Regions from separate parts of the Homo sapiens genome. Here region 2 is linked to region 1. The links are contacts of gene promoters, found by promoter capture Hi-C in human tissues and cell types (Jung and others, 2019). All regions are on one chromosome and are shown on one strand. The core of a region is centred on a gene start or on the middle of the fragment in contact, and the rest is flanking DNA. Distances in the headings are between cores, read along the strand shown.

Evidence for each region. The method cuts DNA at HindIII sites, captures the fragments that hold promoters and counts their contacts. A contact is called where the count stands out against the background at its distance.
Region 2: a contact is called between a fragment that was not itself captured here and the fragment with the promoter of MYH8 in region 1, in 2 of the 25 tissues and cell types used here (mesenchymal stem cells and mesendoderm cells).

The regions. Positions count from the first base shown.
Region 1 is chr17:10,418,511-10,424,454 of GRCh38, forward strand. It overlaps MYH8 (myosin heavy chain 8), which reads right to left and starts at 3,440. Exons shown (of 40, transcript NM_002472.3): 1 at 3,420-3,440; 2 at 3,153-3,196; 3 at 1,508-1,747; 4 at 377-520; 5 at 135-291. The coding sequence starts at 1,717. The region is part of intron 2 of MYHAS (myosin heavy chain gene cluster antisense RNA); the gene reads left to right. The HindIII fragment of the contact is 11,670 bases long and covers 1-5,944 here.
Region 2 is chr17:10,573,306-10,579,651 of GRCh38, forward strand. The region is part of intron 3 of MYHAS (myosin heavy chain gene cluster antisense RNA); the gene reads left to right. Among named protein-coding and RNA genes, the nearest start is that of MYH2, 27 kb to the left of the region's middle. The HindIII fragment of the contact is 5,942 bases long and covers 1,588-6,346 here.

The DNA.
Region 1 (5,944 bases), core at 2,190-4,689:
AAGTTTTTTGAAAACAGTGAAGCCCCATGTGGCTAGAATGTATTATCATAACATAAAGAGGCTCGGAAGAGGTCTGTCTGTTCTGCAAAGATTCTATTTACACATTTCTGTAAATAGATGCCTCACTCACTCACCAGTCAACATGAACTGATAGGCATTGTCAGAGATGGAGAAGATGTGGGGCGGGGCCTCCTGGCGCTTTTTGCCTCTGTAGGCAGCCACCACCTCGGGCTTGTACACCGGCAGCCACTTGTAGGGGTTGACGGTGACACAGAAGAGGCCTGAGTAGGTCTGGGAAGATCAGAACATTTATCATTTGGATCTCGTTTTTACTCAGAGAGAGACATGAAATAAAAAGGTGTTTACAGACACTCACGTAGATCATCCAGGCTGCATAGCGCTCTTTGAGGTTGTACAGCACTCCAGGCTCGTGTAGATGAGTCATCATGGCCATGTCCTCAATTTTGTCATATTTCGGAGGGTTCATAGGGAAGACTTGGTCTTCCCTGACAGTTAGAGTCTGGTGAGTAAGCAAGAAACCAGTTCGTTTTTGTTTGTTTGTTTGAGATAGAGTTTTGCTTTTTTTGCCCAGGCTGGAGTGCAGTGGCGCGATCTCAGCTCACTGCAACCTCCGCCCTCCTGCTTCAAGTGATTGTCCTGCCTCAGCCTTCTGAGTAGCTGGGATTGCAAGTGCCCATCACCATGCCCAGCTAATTTTTGTATTTTTAGTAGAGACAGGATTTCGCCATGTTGGCCAGGCTGGTCTCGAACTCCTGATCTCAGGTGATCCACCTGCCTCAGCCTCCCAAAGTGCTGGGATTACAGGCGTGAGCCACTGCGCCTGGCTAAGACCAGTTCGTTTTAATGGTTGGAGGTAGGGTTTATGTTTGCCTGTATATTTTGGTACAAAACTATAATCACACATACTTCTCATTATATTATTTAATGTCCTCTTAAAAAAGGCATGAAATATATTCATTTCAGAGTTTAATGTTAAGAAAACCTGTTTCCTATGATGAGCTAGGACACTATCTTTTTAAAAGATTTTTTCCTCCCACATTCTCTTATCCCAGATTTATCAGTTTATATCCTTTTTTTCTTATTTTAGTAGGCTAAATTTTTATTTTTTTCTTTCATTCATTAAGAAACTTCATGTTTTTGGAAGTAATGGGGATATTAATACATTATTTAACTAAGTAAATATTTAACTTCTGATAGGAGGAGCTTGTTTTCATTTCCCTCAAGTTTGGACATTCAGACTAGGAAGTGGGGAATTGAAGGGAAATGGTGAAGGCCATACATAGTGGGGTGAGGTCCTGTGCGAAGTTGGGAAGGGAAGACATGAAGGTACTGCTGTGAATTTCTTTTGCCTTCCACATCTAATGTCTCAACACTGACTAGAAGGGTGTTTGCATTGGCAACAGGCTTGGAGATTCCCAGTAAGTTAGGCTTCAACTTTTGAACCAAGAAATAAAATGGGGAGTATTTTCTCCCTGTTTTCACTTACTGCTCCACCTTCAGTCTTTACGGTTACTTTCCCTCCTTCTTTGCTTTGTATAGTGCTCTTCACATAGGATTCCTTGGGCTCCGCCACAAAGACAGATGTTTTAGCATCAAACGGCTTGTTTTGGGCCTCAATCCGCTCCTTTTCTGATTTTCGAAGGTAGGGAGCAGCTTCGCCAAAAACAGCCATCTCAGCGTCTGAGCTCGCACTCATGGCTGCGATTTATTTAGCAAAGGATTCTGCCTAGGGAGGAGAGAAACGGGAGAGAGAGATATAAAAAGCAGAAGTCACAAATGTGAGTTAGGATTTGAAATGAAAGAAATGTTGAACATAGCCTGTGCTGTAACTATTCCTCCAAACTGGCACTCCCCAGTGTTCTAACATAGTCTAAAGGACAAGTATGGAGTGAGACTGTAATTTGAGATTTCATTTTTAGGACTGTGAATTTCCTTTTCAGATCACATATCTTGATCCTCAGGGATAGGGTACCTACAATTGAATTAGAATGAAACCTCTACAGCTAAAACTATTGATGGATTGTTTTATAGCAACTGTCATTATTTAATTTCCTCTCCTCTTTCTGCATAATGTTTGTCTATGCCATATGCCAGGACAATCATATGGTGAGAAAAGAAAGTTTGTCTTGTTCAAATGAAGGTTCATATTTTCAAAGCTATCAAAAAATCTTTGCCTTTTAAGATGGCCATTTTCTCTCATAAAGCAAATAATTATTTTTAACATCTTTATGTTGATATTTGGTGTTGTATCTCTCAGTGGATTGTTAGAAGAACATAATACATTCTAATACTCTGGATTTTTTGTAATTTGGGTTGTTCCCAACAGACTTAGCATTGCCTTGATTCCAAAATCTTTTTTGACATGAGAGATTTCAGCTGTCAGTTAACAGATCTAACCACAGAGGAATGAGAGCTTCAGCACAAAGGCCCTTCTTCCCACATAAATTCCATGGGTTTCTTTTCTTTCCACCCAGAAAACAGAGAAAAAAGTTTTAAGAGTACATCACATGCATGTAAGCCATTGTCTTCTGATTAATAGATAGGCCTCTGCAATGTGGACATGTTAGATTGGTTGAGTTTTTCCTTTATTTTCAATTAGAAAGTTACTTAGGGAAGGGCAGGATTCCTCTTAAATTAGTCATGGTATTTAACACCCGGTGGATGTAATACTTGCGACCTGTTAAGTAAATAATAATAAGTCTTTCTAACAACAAATAACAAATAATCAAAGGTAGCTAAAATATTTATATTTATATTTCTAGGTAAAAATCTTTCTGGAGTCTTTAAAAATGTCTATAAAATGTCCTAAGTCCTCAATGCTTTGCCATAGAAGAAGACTGGCATGGACTAGTCTATTGCCACTGGACAGTTCTAAGCACAGCTGAGAACTCACTGTTGAAGCTAATTCTGTCCTAAACGGTCTTTGAATCTTGGAACCCAAATGAGGATAGTCTCTGAGAAGAAGACATTTTGAAAAAGTTATTTTCTAGCATTTATAAACACTCACTCGGAAACACTCTTTCCTGATATAACTGCAAAAACATGGAAATGGTGTATAATTCAGGATTGTTCACAGCTTCATTAGACTATATCCCCTCTGTCATCAATAAATTAATAAAGCCAAGTCTTACCTCTGGAGTTCCAGATAAAAATGCAGGTTCAGAAGTGTTCCACTCTGTAAAACAACAAGCTTCTTATTAGTGATGCTCCGAAATTCCAATATTATAGTTACAGAATTGTTATTATAGTTACAGAATTGAAGTTTCCCTACCCCAAAGCTTGGTTCTATGAAGACAAAAGTTAAGATTGAGAGAGCAGTTTAATGCTCACAGATAACTACGAGGTCAGCTCTTTTCCCCACCTGGGGTTTTTCGAGTTCCAAGGCCTTCATCACTTACCTCTGGGTTCTTGGTGGAAATAAGGCACAAGGGGCAGTCCTGCTTATATAGGAACTAATGTGCTGATGCTGCAACTACCTCCTCTTTGTTAGGGCAAGACATTTGGCAACATGAACCCTCAGCATAGTTTGTAGTGACATTTGTCATGTTTGGATATAATTAGAAGTATTCATATCATTTTGTGTATGCAAACCAATCTCCTATAAATAATTTGACAGAGACCGATCTGCCAGCAGAGAATGCTTTCTAGTGTGCTGGGAAGGGAATCTTTGACAGTGCCTGATGGGGCCTCAGAGTAAGTTCTTAAGAGCTATATTCAATTTGGCAAACTCTTTCATGCACGCCTGTGGTAGCCAAATGATCAGATACCCGGGGCACACGGCTGTCAGGGCCTTAAGCACGTTTCCTTATTTGCTACCACGGGAACCCCCCACTGCATTCCCTTGGGCCACTACAGATGCTCACTCTTGAAGTCCAGGCTTAGACAGCAGAGATTCTACCTTGAGTCTCCACCATTGGGCCAGTGCCCACTCATCTAACTTTGAAAAACATTATTAGTAGAAAATAATATGTTTATTACAGAAAAAAATACAGGTAAGTAAAAAAAGTCTCTGTAATCTCTAATGCAGAAATAAGATAGAGGCGTATAAGTGGGATCATATTATAGATGCATATATAGTACATGTGTGCCTTGTAATATGCTTTAATAATTAATATATCATATCACTAATGTAATTTATACCCTATTCTTTAAATAAATTATGATTTTTTTTAATTAAACTCTTTCCTTTTTTTAAGGTCAGATATATTGAGGTATAATTTACATAGAGTCAAATTCACCCTTTTAAAGTGACAGTTTTATGAGGTTTTTTGCTTTTATTTTTAAAAATTTTTAAACTTTATAATAAAATTTACTTCTTTTGTTGTATGATTGTATGAGTTTTTATACACGTATTGATTCATGTAGCCACCACCACAGATAGGATGCAGAACAATTCCAGGCCTATGGGTTTGATAAATATATGCAGGTGTGTAACCTCTTACACTGTAATTACATAAAAATTAAAGCCTTAGAGATTAGGCTAAATTTTCCCTTTGATGAACACTCACAATGCTGGTATCTCCCTTTTCTCCCAAGGTAACTACGGATACCCGTTTAGTTTGTAATATTGCAGACCTTTTCTGTACATTTACATATGTATTTTCTGGGAAAATATAAATTAGTAAAACTGGTCTAAGGAAATTGGGCCATAGAAAATTTATAATATATAATATAGATGTTTAAAATATAGATAGTATGATTATTTATTTACAAACTTTCTTTTTTCATTCTACACTCTTGGATCATTTGCCATGTTAGTACATAAATAATAATATGAAAACATTTCAAACATATGCAAAAGTAGAGGGGATAGCATAATGAACCTAGTATATTCATCATCCAGCACTGATAATTATCAGTTCATGGTCAGTCTTGTTTCTTATATATTCTCACCATTCCCTCTATCACTGGATTATTTTGATATTACTCATTTTTAAATTTCTGTGTAAAATTCCGTAGGTTTAAGATTGTAATAATTTTGTTTATACAAGTTCTAAAAAGTTTCTCCTGATTTAATAATGATCTTTACTATGCGATCTCAATCTTCTAGAAGTTTTACATCTTTAGGTAGTCAGAGTTATAAAAAATTTTCTTTTATATTTTTGGTTTTTTGTGTGTATTGTATAAGAAAAACTTTCTCTAACTCAAGAACTCAGAGTCATACATATATTCTTCTGTATTTTCAAGCTAATGCTTATGAAATAGTGAGATGTGTAATCCTGTATTTTCAATCTGATGCTTAAAAAATAGTGAGATTTGTAATCCAGCTGTGTGTGTGTTCGTGTGCATGTAATCTGTTTCTGGATTCCATATTTTGTACCGTATTTCTATGCCAATAGCATAGGTTTTGATGACCAGTAGGGCCAATTTTCCCTAATTATTCAAAGTTGTCCTGTTAATTTTTACCTTCTACTATATGAGTTTTAGAATCATGTTCTTCAGGTTATGGAAAATTCTATTGGGATTTTGATTTTGATTAAATTGATTTAATAGATTAATTTGATAAGAGTTGATAGCTTTATAAAAGTGAGTCTTTCAGTTTATAAGGATGATATATTTTCCTGTTTATTCCAAGTCCTTTTCAAAAATACTTTTTAGTCATTTTTAAAAGTTTTTTCCATAATGATCTTATATTCCTTGTTCGGTGTATTCCTACAAATTTTAGAGTTTTCTGTTGATATGTTGAATAGGATTATTTTTTCTATTACACTTTCTACTTGGTTACTACTGGCACGTGGCAGACAAGTTTGCATAATCAGAGCTTCACTTTTGTTTGTGGCAGTAGTATGCCAAACTATATATTATTATATTCAGACTCTCAGCATAGGGTAACCATATGACACTGTTTTGGCTAATGAAATGCAAGCAGAAGTTGCTGGGTGGAGCTTCCAGAAAAGCTCTTTTCTAAAAGAGGGTAGACTTT
Region 2 (6,346 bases), core at 3,309-5,808, 160 kb after region 1:
GCTTCAATCTTGGGATTAAAATGACACCTCCAGGAATTGCTCTTTTTCTCCATTTCTTGACTGTGCTTTTCTCTGTATTGGCTTCATACCTGCAACAAGCTCCCTCTCTGTGGTGGGAAATCCAGTTCGTGGCAGCTCTAGGTTTTCACTGTCCTGATAGTCTAAGGAAAAGAGAAAGACTTTTCCCAGGAGTTCCGGTACCAATTCTGGAAGGGCTCTGATTGGCCTGGTTAATGTCACATTTTCATCACTAAATAGGATTCCCAGATAAAATAGAGAACTCCCAGTTATATGTGAATTTCAGAAAAACAAATTTTTTTTACTATAAGTATGTCTTATGCAATATTTGAGACGTGCTTATACTAAAAAAATTGTATTTATCTGAAATTAAAATGTAACTGAACATCCTGTATTTTTATTTGCTGAACTTGGCAACCTAATTCCTATGCCAACCACCTGTGGCCAAAAGGATGACAGACTCCTGAATCCTGGAGATTGAGTCAGTCTCAGATTGATGGGGACTGGGAATGGGGGAAGGGTAGTTGCCTAAAGAAATCCTGAGCAGATTAAAAGCTTGTGCCTACTATACTTGCTGTTTCTTCCTGTACTCCCAATTTTGTGTAGACTTTTCCAGATCATCTATCTCATGTTAAAAACTGAGATAATCACCTTCACTTCCAAATGTGTATTTTTTTGACAAACTGCCAATTATTGACAACAGATTTTTTCTCCATTCCTCTCACCTCTAGTTATTGAATTTACAAGTTTGGTGTTCTTTCATTTCTTGATTTTCCTTTGGTCCATTAATCCACAACTTGAAAACCCAGACTTGTGTCTCACCAAGTAAATTCCTACATTCCAGAAGCTGCAAAATTTGACTCAATGACAGTCTAGTGCTAGCTCAAAGGTGACTTGGGGCAGTATCTGAGCAAGCAATATGAACCTGGAAATTCAGATGCAGCAGATTTGCTGATTTGAAGAGATCATTCCAGTTTTTATAAAAATTTCATATACTTATTATTTTATGAACTAATGTACTGTCATAGTAACAAAGTTTGGACCTTCGCTGGAGGAGAAGGGGATGAGTTCAAGAAATTTTCCTATTTGTAAGCACTACTATTTGTTTGTTCTGTATCACATTGCCATGTTCTCACTTGTATGCCTCAACTGTAAATATGCATATCTGCTTTATTAGTCACGATTCTCCAAGGAGTCAAACGCACGTGTGCACACACACACACAGAGGGAAAGCGAGAGATTTATTTGAAGGAATTGGCTCACACTGTTGTGAGGCTGGCAATTTGAAATCAGCAGAGCAGGGTTAGCAGGCTGAAGAGCCAGGAAACAGTTGATGTTGTAGTCTTAAGTCCTTTGGTGACTTCAGTCTTTTGAGACCTTCAACTGATTGAATGAGGCCCTCCCACATAATAGAGAGTAATCTGCTTTACTTGAAGTCTACTGATTTAAATATTAATCGCATCCTTAAAAAATCTCTTTGGCCCGGCATGGGGGCTGCTGCCTATAATTCCAGCGCTTTGGGAGGCAAAGGTGGGAGGATAGCTTGAGCCTAGGAGTTAGAGACCAGCCTGGGCAACATAGTGAGACCCCGTCTTTACAAAATAAAAAATTTTAGCCCCAGGCATGGTGCACATGCCTGTGGTCCCAGTTACTTGGGAGGCTGAGGCAGGAGGATCACTTGAGCCTAAGAAGTTGAGGTTGCAGTGAGCTATGATTGCACCAGTGCACTCCAGACTGGGTAACAGAGCAAGACCCTGTCTCAAAAAATAAAAATAAAAATCCCTTCACAACAATGTCTAGACTGGTGCTTGACCCAAAACTGGGTACTGGGGCCTGGCCAAGTTGACCCATAAAATTAACCATCCCATCTAAGAAGTCATTACTTTACGTCTAATTGTGTCAATGTATATCATTGTCAGATCTTCCTTCAATATTGTCAAAATTCTTAATACATTGGTTTTATTTGCTTGGAAAAGTTTCGGTGATAATTGCTGAAGGACCAGGCTATTTTATAGAAAAGTTCTTTTTCTCTTGAGGCTATTGGATGTGAATAATCCTGAAGTCTTCTTCTGTAGCAAGTCATTCAAGAAATGGATTGACCTTTAAAAGAAATTTCACAGTAATTTTCCTCTGGCTTATTTTTGGCAATCAAAATAAATAGAATCACAGACTGGGGACTGGGCATGGTGGCTAACACCTGTAATCCTAGCGCTTTGGCAAGCCAGGGCAGGAGGATCACTGGAGGCCAAGAATTTGAGACCAACCTGGGCAACAAAGCAAGACCCTATTTCTACAAAAAAAAAAAAAAAAAAAAAAGAGTCAGACATGATGGCTCATGTCTGAAGTCCTAGCTACTCGGGAGGCTGAGGCAGGAGTACTGCTTGAGCCTAGCAGTTCAAGGCTGCATTGAGCCATGATTACACCACTGCACTCCAGACTGGTTGATAGAGCAAGACCTTGTCTCAAGCAAACAAACAAACAAAAAAAACAAAAACAAACAAAAAAAACTAAAGACTAGAGGGATGTTGATTCCTCTTTGAAATCTTAGGTTTATGCTTAGATGAGACACTGCAGTAGCCTGAAGCTTCATATTAGTCTATTGGCATGTGCTTTGACAAAAAGCAAACAAAACATGTAGGTAACAAAGATGAAAGATAAAATAGACCAACATCAAGAAAAATGGCATTCTGAGTTTTGATCTCAGAGAACTAGTCCCCTCTCTATGTTCCAGGAATGACAGAAAATGACATATTTCAAATACAAGTTAATTCTTTTCTTTTAGCTAAATTGTTCACGATTGAATGGTGCTTTTATACGTCAAGAAAATGATCCCTTCTCTTCCTGATCTTCTATTAAAAACAATGAGACAATTAATTTTTCCTACTGATGAATCTGATAATATGCACTGTTAAATGTGTGGAACGCAAATTTAGAGTTTCTTATACAGATCAGATACTCAGAGGGAGTATAATTCACCAAGGATTCCCCTTTGGAAAATGATGTTTAAAAGCTCAGAGAGCACTAATTAGATTAAGTACGATGATCATGAGAGAAATGTTAGATTAGAACCAAAAAGTTTTTGAAAGGGTAGAGCAATTCGGAGGAGCTAAGAGAAGATTAATGCATAAGAATTGAGTGACTGTGCTAATGACAAAAAGAACCTAAAGGGACACATTTCAAATCAGTCAATGGTAAATGGTGGAGAGGTGTGAGAGGAAAAGGGGTCAGGGCCCCTTTGACAAATATTCTCTTAGGTATTTTCTCTTAATAGAGGGTCCTTGTGGAGGAAGAGTGATCTAAAAGTTTGCATGGGTAAAGGAATACCTGTTGAATTCAGTAAGACCTTAAATGCCCAGGGGAACTCTCTGGCCTTGGCTTAGTAAGCAATAGAAGTCACTGAAGGTCTTGAGGAAAAAGGAGGGAGAAGAACGCCGTAGGTTAGAGAAGCAAATCTGGAAGTATAGTGTAGACTGTGGGAGAAGAGTTCACGCTGGCGATTAGAGGCATGTGTGAGTTTCGATTGAATGTGTGGGCAGGGCTTACAGATATGAGATGACTCTGAGATATTCTTTTTTTTTCTTTTTTTTTTTTGAGACGGAGTCTCACTGTGTCGTCCAGGCTGGAATGTAGTGGCGTGATCTTGGCTCACTGCAAGCTCTGCCTCCCAGGTTCACGCCATTCTCCTGCCTCAGCCTCCTGAGTAGCTGGGACTACAGGCGCCTGCCACCACGCCCAGCTAATTTTTTGTATTTTTAGTAGAGACGGGGTTTCACTGTGTTTGCCAGGATGGTCTCGATCTCCTGACCTTGTGATCCATCCACCTAGGCCTCCCAAAGTGCTGGGATTACAGGCTTGAGCCACCGTGCCTAGCCAACTCTGAGATATTCTAAAGGAGTGGGGGGCTTACAGAGAGGAATCATGGACAGGCTAGATGGTATCTTTGAAGTTATCTGATCCAATATACTACCCAATACGATATGTCTACATTTAACAGTCCATAGCTTACATTAGAGTTCACTCTGTGTTGGTCATTCTATGGATTTTGACTAATGTCATACATCCACCATTACAGTATCACATAGATATCAATTTCTTTTTCAGAGACAGTGTAGACTAATGCTGTATCAATGAAGGAATTTTCTTTGACTACCAGATATCTGTTTCTGTAATGTTATCAGTGGATTCCCACTGTTCTGCCAGAAGTTTTGAATGTTCTTCCTGCTTTGCAGGCAGTTTCTCCCTAAAGAACTACTGAATATTATGTCATACTCCCAACAGGGTAATATATGTGATGTGCACTGTAAAACTTTCCAAAAGTTATTAAAATACTGAGTTCCAAATGCACCTGGCCCCAAAGGTTGTGGATTTGGAGTTGTGGATCTATACTCCCTAGTATCCCCAGCAGGATCTGGGAGAGGACCTCAGAATCAAACAACTTCATATTTCTGCAGTGAAAGAATCTCTGCACATAAATACTCACACTAAGTGGGATAAAGAGAGATAAATATCTCTACACCACTTTCAGTCAAGTTTTGTTGTGAAAGGGAAAACTTATTTTCTTAAAAAAAAAAGATTTTGTCTTTTCAAAGCATTTTGGATTTCAGAATTGTAGATAAGGGATGGTGGACCTAGACAACACATGACAAAGTGATATAAATGCCACTGTAAAAAAGACTATGGCACTCCAGCCTGGGCAACAGAGTGGGACCCTGTCTCAAAAAAAAAACAAAAAAAAAAACAAAAACGGCCGGGCTCAGTGGCTCACGCCAGTAATCCCAACACTTTGGGAGGCCAAGGCAGGCGGATCACATGAGGTCAGGAGACCAGCCTGACCAACATGATGGAACCCCATCTCTACTAAAAATACAAAAATCAGCTTGGTGTGGTGGTGTGCGCCTGTAATCCCAGCTACTCAGGAGGCTGAGGCAGGAGAATCACTTGAACCTGGGAGGCGGAGGTTGCAGTGAGCTGAAATTGCACCACTACACTCCAGCCTGGGTGACAGAGTGAAACTCCATCTCAGAAAAAAAAAAAAAAGAAAAGAAAAAAAATAAAAGGCTATGGGCCCATAGAGAGGCAATTGGTTCGTATCTTTACCCCTTAGCTAAGCTGATTTTAGATAGGTCAAGAGGAAGTGATAAGGGAATGGAGCCAGTGGCATGGACTATTTGTATGAGAAATTTATGGTGGGGCGCGGTGGCTCACTCCTGTAATCCCAGGACTTTGGGAGGCCGAGGTGGGCGGATCACCTGAGGTCAGGAGTTCAAGACCAGCCTGACCAACATGGAGAAACCCCGTCTCTACTAAAAATACAAAATTAGCTGGGTGTGGTGGCACATGCCTGTAATCCCAGCTACTCGGGAGGCTGAGGCAGGAGAATCGCTTGAACCCAGGAGGCAGAGATTTCAGTGAGCAGAGATCGTACCATTGCACTCCAGCCTGGGCAACAAGAGTGAAACTCAGTCTAAAAAAATAAAAGAAAATAAACGTATTAAAATGTTTCAATTGCTATGTTTTTGTTAAAAGCACCAGGAATTCCAACTCAAAGAAGCTAAAACATTAAATGTGTCAGCTAATGTATCTGGAAGGATCAGAGAGAAGACTAGCATAAGGCAAGGCTTGATCTGGAAGCTCAGTGATACTATCAAGAGCTCAGATCCTTTTGGCCTCTCAGCTCTGCCCTGTAACTTATACTTTTAGGTGTACATGAGCAGGGAAAACAAAACTGAAGACCGTAGCTTAGGCCATATGCCCCATCCATCCCTGGAGGTAACAAGAGGAAAGTCACCTTCCTTGGGACTGTATAGATGCCCAAACAGAAATCTGAGGGTATTGAGAAGGGGGAAGAGGGATTGGCTGGTGCAGAGGGAAGCATTTGACAAAGACAAGGGGAGAAGCCATTGAAAGGAGGTAAGCTTTTAATGTTTGTTTTAGATAGAGAGTATATGTGTGTGTTTGAGGGCAGAAAAGTGGGGATGGGGTGAGTTGAAGTCTAGAACTCATTAGAGACGTCCTGGAGGAGGAGGGGAAGAGAAAGGATTTAGACAGAGAGAGACAGTGGGTGTGTGGCTTGGTAACTAGATTGTGGCAACTGGCTCTGGTATCCTGAACTTGAACTGCCTGATAGATGAACGGGCACACCTGGTTACTCAAGGCAGTGTCTCTTGGGGATTGCTGTGGTTACAGAGCAGTTTTTTCTGTGAGGTCAAGCCACAGCTATAGCCTCAAGCTACTTGAGAGCTAAACCTATCTGTTTAATTATTGCTAAAAGGATTTTATTGTTCACTATGCACAGGCATATAAAAATGCACTTTGAGGTTATAAGATT